Regions from separate parts of the Homo sapiens genome. Here region 2 is linked to region 1. Evidence: promoter capture Hi-C in 16 types of primary human blood cells and fetal thymus (Javierre and others, 2016). All regions are on one chromosome and are shown on one strand. Each heading gives the region's core, a stretch centred on a gene start or on the middle of the fragment in contact. The rest is flanking DNA. Distances are from core to core; before and after follow the strand shown. Region 1 holds the start of OASL (2'-5'-oligoadenylate synthetase like). Region 2 overlaps P2RX4 (purinergic receptor P2X 4).

Evidence for each region. Contacts are between HindIII fragments. The CHiCAGO score rates a contact against its expected background, and 5 or more counts as called.
Region 2: a fragment that was not itself captured here is called in contact with the fragment with the promoter of OASL in region 1 in 3 of 17 cell types (M2 macrophages, erythroblasts and megakaryocytes); the score reaches 5.6 in M2 macrophages.

What each region holds. Positions count from the first base shown.
Region 1 is chr12:121,037,384-121,040,522 of GRCh38, forward strand. It overlaps OASL (2'-5'-oligoadenylate synthetase like), which reads right to left and starts at 1,863. Exons shown (of 6, transcript NM_003733.4): 1 at 1,391-1,863. The coding sequence starts at 1,588. RefSeq lists enhancers at 1,027-1,528, 1,529-2,028, 1,608-2,027. The HindIII fragment of the contact is 5,031 bases long and covers 1-3,139 here.
Region 2 is chr12:121,233,012-121,236,567 of GRCh38, forward strand. It overlaps P2RX4 (purinergic receptor P2X 4), which reads left to right. Exons shown (of 12, transcript NM_002560.3): 11 at 1-81; 12 at 512-1,095. The coding sequence ends at 538. Among named protein-coding and RNA genes, the nearest start is that of P2RX4, 25 kb to the left of the region's middle. RefSeq lists an enhancer at 731-1,358. The HindIII fragment of the contact is 6,150 bases long and covers 1-3,556 here.

The sequences.
Region 1 (3,139 bases), core at 613-3,112:
TCAGTGAGGGGGGCTTGGGTCCCTTGAGTCAAGTTCAAATCCCAGCTTCAACACTGTGTGACCTTGGGCAAGTCACCTCACCTCTCTGAGCCTCCATTAAAAAATCATTTTAGGCCGAGTGCAGTGGCTCACTGTAATCCCAGCACTTTGGGAGGCCGAGGAGGGCAGATCATGAGGTCAGGAGATCGAGACCATCCTAGCCAACACGGTGAAACCCTGTCTCTACTAAAATACAAAAAATTAGCCGGGCGTGGTGGTGGGCGCTGTCGTCCCAGCTACTTGGGAGGCTGAGGCAGGGGAATTGCTTGAACCTGGGAGGCAGAGGTTGCAGTGAGCTGAGATCGTGCCACTGCACTCCAGCCTGGTGACAGAGCAAGACTCTGTCTCAAAAAAAAAAAAACAAAAACAAAAATCATTTTATTGGCCGGCCAGACATGGTGGCTCACACCTGTAATCCCAGCACTTTGGGAGGCCAAGGTGGGCATATTCTTGATCCCAGGAGTTCGAGACCAGCATGGGCAACATTGGTGAAACCCTATCTCTACAAAAAATACAAAAATTAGCTGAGCATGGTGGTGCATGCCTGTAATCCCAAGCTATTTAGGAGGCTGAGGATCACCTGAGCTCAGGGAGATTGAGGCTACAGTGAGTGGTGATTGTGCCACTGCACTCCAGCCTGGGTGACAGAGCGAGACCCTGTCTCTAAAAAAAAAAAAAGTCATTTTATTATCAAAAAGTTAAAACACATAGAAAAATAGATGATACAACTAACACTCATATACCCAACTAGTTGATTCAACAAGTCTAAATTCCTGGCTACATGTGCTTAATCTAAGCCACGTTAAAGTAAATTATAGGCACCAAGGAACTTTGTCCCTAAAATACTTCAGTGTTCGTGTCCAAACAAAAGACAACCTTCTGATAACCACAAAACTACTGTTACACCTAACAAAATCAACAATGATTTCCCATATCAGATATATGTACTATCTGATATCTAGGCCAGTTGTCCCCAAACTATATTTTACAGATGGTTCATTCACACTAGGATCCAACCAAGGACCTCGCATTGTATTGGTTCTGAGCCTCCATTTGCTAATCTGTAAACTGGGCAAAGAATAGTACCTATCTCACAGAGTGCAAGAATTAGAGATAGTGTATGTTAAGAGGTTAGTCCAGTGAGCCCCCAAATGTGAGCTATTATTACTAGACTCATTCTACTCAAGGCAGTGGTGCAGTGGGGTGTAGACAGCTAGGTGGGATGGGGTATTCTGAGATGTCATCAGCATGGGCTAGGGATAAGGAGGACAGGGGTCCCCAGCATCCCCAGGGACGTGGACTCTGATACTGGGTTTTGTCTTGCGTGGGGGCTGGAGGAGCCCAGTCTTACCTTGACTACCTTCAGCACCCGCACATCCTGGTCCAGCCCACGCTTCCCCTGGAAATGCTCCTGCCTCAGAAACTCCTCCACGGTCCGCACAGCGTCTAGCACCTCTTCCTTCCACTCCCGGTGGGGCTGCAGCCACTGAGCCACGAAGGAGTCCAGCCTGGAGGCTGGTGTGCTATACAGTTCCTGCATCAGTGCCATCTCTGTCCCGAGAGTACCGCTGCTGGGCAGATATATAGCCAGGCTCCTACCCAGCTCCCTGGCACACACCTCCTTTTTTAAGGTAGCTCCTCCTCAGCTGCCCTCCAGTGCTCTGTGGGAGGAGGGACCCTAGCAGAGAGGAAACCAGGTGTGACGGGCTGACTCCAGGTCCCCCTTCTTGGAGACACCCTTGCTGCAGTAGGGGCACAGGAGGACTCTGGGCTGAGGCTGGAATATCTGGGGCCACCTTAACAGGCTGGCCGTCTAGTCAATCTGTCATCAGTTTCGATTCTCAACTTTTAGAGTTCTCCTTTATGACGTTGGGAAACTGAAGTTGGATAGTGTTTGACCCCAAAGGAGGCAACTTGCCCAGTAGGTTGGGGTTGGATAGTTGTTAGTCAATTCAACTGCTTACATCTGTCTAAGGAAATTGAGGCTTGGGAACGGAAGGGACTCACTAGTGTTCAGGTGGTGGAGTGAGAATCTGGAGCCCAAGAGAACAGACTGGGAATTCTAGTCTACCTGTGCCAGACTCTAACCTCTTTGACCCTCACTATTCATAGAGTGGGTTTTTTTGTTTTTTTGTTTTTTTTTTTTTTTGGCCGGGTCTTGCTCTGTTGCCCAGGCTGGAGTGCAGTGGTGCAATCTCAGCTCACTACAACCTCTGCCTCACGGGTTCAAGCGATTCTCCTGCCTCAGCCTCCCTAGTAGCTGGGACTACAGACATGTGCCACCACGCCCGGCTAATTTTTTTTTTGTATTTTTAGTAGAGACGGGGGTCTCACCATTTTGGTCAGGCTGGTCTCAAACTCCTGACCTCAAATGATCCGCCCACCTCGGCCTCCCACAGTGCTAGGATTACAGCGTGAGCCACCGCGCCCGGCCCATAGAGTGGGTTTAACAGGTATTATGATTCACGCACTGAACCAAGAAGTTCATGCATTGAGCCAAGAAGACAAAATAAGATGAGGTTCCTGTTCCAAGGGGACTCCCAGAACGGTGGAGGAGACACAGAAAAAAGAGACTGCAAAAGTCCAGTGCGATGAGTTAAGTAGGAAAAAAGCATGAAAACATGAAGCCGGCAGATGAGTTTCATTTGGTGTTAGCAGACACCTGCTTGAGAGGAATCTTAAAGACTGGGGATCCGGGCTGGGCATGGTGGCTCATGCTTGTAGTCCCAGCACTTTGGGAGGCCAAGGTGAGAGGATCACTTGAGGCCAGGAGTTCAAGACCAGCCTGGGCAACATAGCTGGACACCTGCAACTTCCCAAACTCTGAATAATATTAAGTGCTCCAGGGCTTAGTCCTGGGTCCTTTTCTCTTCTTGTTCTAGACTTACTCCCTTGGTGATTTCAGCCAGCGTTTAAATGTTTTTACTCTGGCAACTTCCACATTTTAATTTTATTTTTATTTATTTGTTTATTTTTGAGATGGAGTCTCACTGTCTCGCCCAGGCTGGAGTTCAGTGACACAATCTCGGCTCACTGCAACCTCTGCCTCCCAGGTTCAGGCGATTCTTGTGCCTCAGCCTCCCAAGGAGCTGGGATTACA
Region 2 (3,556 bases), core at 398-2,897, 200 kb after region 1:
GACATCATAGTCCTCTACTGCATGAAGAAAAGACTCTACTATCGGGAGAAGAAATATAAATATGTGGAAGATTACGAGCAGGTAGGCCCCTCCTGGCCCCCAGCAGGCACAGGCCTCTCATCTCTTGGGTGTGGGAGCCCTGGGCGTGGGCCTGTCTGGGGAGGCCCTTCTGCAGAGGCTGGCACCAGTGTGGCGTGGTGTCCCCGTTAACCCGGGCAGTCCTGCCACTCTCAGCAGCTGCTCCATCCCTAGGCCCCTGTACTAGATTGACTCTTTAAACCCAGCCTCGTTTCAATGAGCGACATCTCAGGTTGGTGATGATAATGCATGCTCTGAGAATGCCTGTGGGCACACACTACTTCAGTGCACCTTGCGGAACAGGAAGGGTTGGGTTCCAGGCCTGGGACCAACTTGAGAACCCCTGGCGGTGAAGTCCCAGGAGCGCACCTCCCTCCCGCCTGCCACAAGGGGTCCCAGGGGCACCTTGATCTGCTTGTGTCCTTCTTTGCAGGGTCTTGCTAGTGAGCTGGACCAGTGAGGCCTACCCCACACCTGGGCTCTCCACAGCCCCATCAAAGAACAGAGAGGAGGAGGAGGGAGAAATGGCCACCACATCACCCCAGAGAAATTTCTGGAATCTGATTGAGTCTCCACTCCACAAGCACTCAGGGTTCCCCAGCAGCTCCTGTGTGTTGTGTGCAGGATCTGTTTGCCCACTCGGCCCAGGAGGTCAGCAGTCTGTTCTTGGCTGGGTCAACTCTGCTTTTCCCGCAACCTGGGGTTGTCGGGGGAGCGCTGGCCCGACGCAGTGGCACTGCTGTGGCTTTCAGGGCTGGAGCTGGCTTTGCTCAGAAGCCTCCTGTCTCCAGCTCTCTCCAGGACAGGCCCAGTCCTCTGAGGCACGGCGGCTCTGTTCAAGCACTTTATGCGGCAGGGGAGGCCGCCTGGCTGCAGTCACTAGACTTGTAGCAGGCCTGGGCTGCAGGCTTCCCCCCGACCATTCCCTGCAGCCATGCGGCAGAGCTGGCATTTCTCCTCAGAGAAGCGCTGTGCTAAGGTGATCGAGGACCAGACATTAAAGCGTGATTTTCTTAATCCCTGTCTGTTGTCTCATAGCATGTGCTAGAACTTTCCTTCCTACCCTTTTACGACAACCAGTAAATCCACTATTCCGGCTCACTGTGCTCAGAAAAGGTCCATGGGATGGTCTGTTTCTGGCACTTATGCACATTTTCCCCTACTTCTTTATTTATTTATTTTATTTTTGAGGCAGAGTCTCACTCTGTCGCCCAGGCTGGAGCGCAGTGGTGCAATCTCGGCTCATTGCAACCTCTGCCTCCCGGGTTCAAGCGATTCTCCTGCCTCAGCCTCCCGAGTAGCTGGGATTACAGGTGCATGCCACCATGCCCGGCTAATTTTTGTATTTTTAGTAGAGACAGGGTTTCACCACATTGGCCAGCCAGGCTGGTCTCGAACTCCTGACCTCAAATGATCCATCTGCCTTAGCCTCTCAAAGTGATTGGATTACAGGTGTGCGCCACCACACCTGGCCTATTTATTTTTTTTATTACCCAGGCTGGAGTGCAGTGGCGCAATCACTGCTCACTGCAGTCTCCACCTCCTGGGCTTAAGCGATCCTCCTACCTCAGCCTCCCATAGTGCTGGGATTACAAGCATGAGCCACTGCACCCAGCTGCCTACTTTTTAAAGCCTAATAATTTGTCATTAGCTTGTCTTCCTGCACAGTTCACAGGACACTTTTTCTCTAGTGACATCTTACCTGTGCCTCCATTTTGACATAAAATTACAATTCTATGCTGTGGGTAACACAATTTTTGGTAACATGGAAGTGGCTTCCTCTCCCTTCCCTGTTTGCTTCCCAAAAGTCTCCAACCAAAAGCAGCAGCACGCATACCTAGCTCCGCACAGGTTCGAAATGTTCATGAAGCTATTTCCAGCTGCAGCTTCACACCAACTAAATGTTTGTGTTTTTTTGTTTTTGAGACAGAGTCTTGCCCTATTGCCCAGGCTGGAGTGCAGTGGCATGATCTCGGCTCACTGCAACCTCTGCCTCCTGGGTTCAAGCAATTCTCCTGCCTCAGCCTCCCAAGTAGCTGGGATTACAGGCATCTGCCACCACACCCAGCTAATTTTTGTATTTTTAGTAGAGACAGAGGTTCACCATGTTGGCCAGGCTGGTCTGGAACTCCTGACCTCATGATCCACCGCCTCAGCCTCCCAAAGTGCTGGGATTACAGGCGTGAGCCACTGCACCCAGCCACACACCAGCTGAATTCTGCATCAGGTATTCAGAATCCCCCTAGAGGAAGCAGTTTGCCCTTCGCCTCTGCCATGAATTCACTTCCAAGTACTGAGAGGAACCATTATTTTACAAATACTCTGCTTCTGCTGGATAAATGGCCAACCTGGGCTTTTCTTGCTTTTGGAAAAAAAAAAAAAAGTTTACCAACTCCCTTTATTGAAGCTCTGGTTCATGCTGCCTTTTAAAAAAAAATGCTTGTTGCCTGTAATCCCAGGACTTTGGGAGGCCAAGGTGGATCACTTAAGCGTAGGCATTCAAGACCAGCCCAGTCAACATGGTGAGACCCTATCTCTACAAAAAATTAAATTAGCCGGGTGTGGCGGTATATATCTGTAGTCCCAGCTACTTGGGTGGCTGAGGCCGGAGGATCACTTGAGCCCAGGAGGTTGAGGCTGCAGTGAGCTATGATGGTGCCACTGTACTCCAGCCTGGGCACCAAAGTGAGACCCTGTCTGAAAAAATAAAAAGTGCTTGCTTAGGCACATGGGTCAAATGAAGCTGGAATGTTTAGGAATGGTGATATGGGCTGAATGTGTCTACCAAAATTCACATTTTGGAAACTTCATCCCCAAGGCAACCTTATTGGGAGGTGAAGCCTTGGGGAGGTGACTGAGTCAGGATTGCGCTGCCCTCATGAATGGGGTTGGTGCCCTATACGAGGGCTAGAGAGGGAGCTCATCCCCCGTCTGCCTTGCCACTGTCTGCCACGCGAGGACAAGTGTTCCTCCCTCCAAAGGATGCGGCACCAAGGCACCCTCTTGGAAGCAGAGAGCAGCCCTCACCAGATACCAAACCTGCCAGCACCTTGATCTTGAACTTCCTGGCCTCCAGAAATGTGAGAAATCAATTATTGTTCTTTATAAATTACCCAGTCTTAGGTCCCTGTAACAGCAGCACAAAACAGACTTAAGGGCAATGGGTGTGTTTATGATCTTGCTCGTCAAGGAGTGATGGTCACTGGCTGTCTTCCGAAGTGGGGGAGATGCTGTTTAGCCTCTTTTCTAAAACAAATGTGAAAGCAAGCCAGTGTTGGGGTGAGGGGCGGGTGTGTTTCTAGATGCCATGAACACCAGCAGGAGGCTGGGTGTGGTGATGCGCGCCTGTCATCCCAGCACTTTGGGAGGCTGAGGCAGGAGGATTACTTGGTCCAAGAGTTTGAGACCAGCCTGGGCAACAGGTAGTGAGACCTCATCCCTACAAATAATTTAAAAATTAGCCAGGCATGGTGGTGCA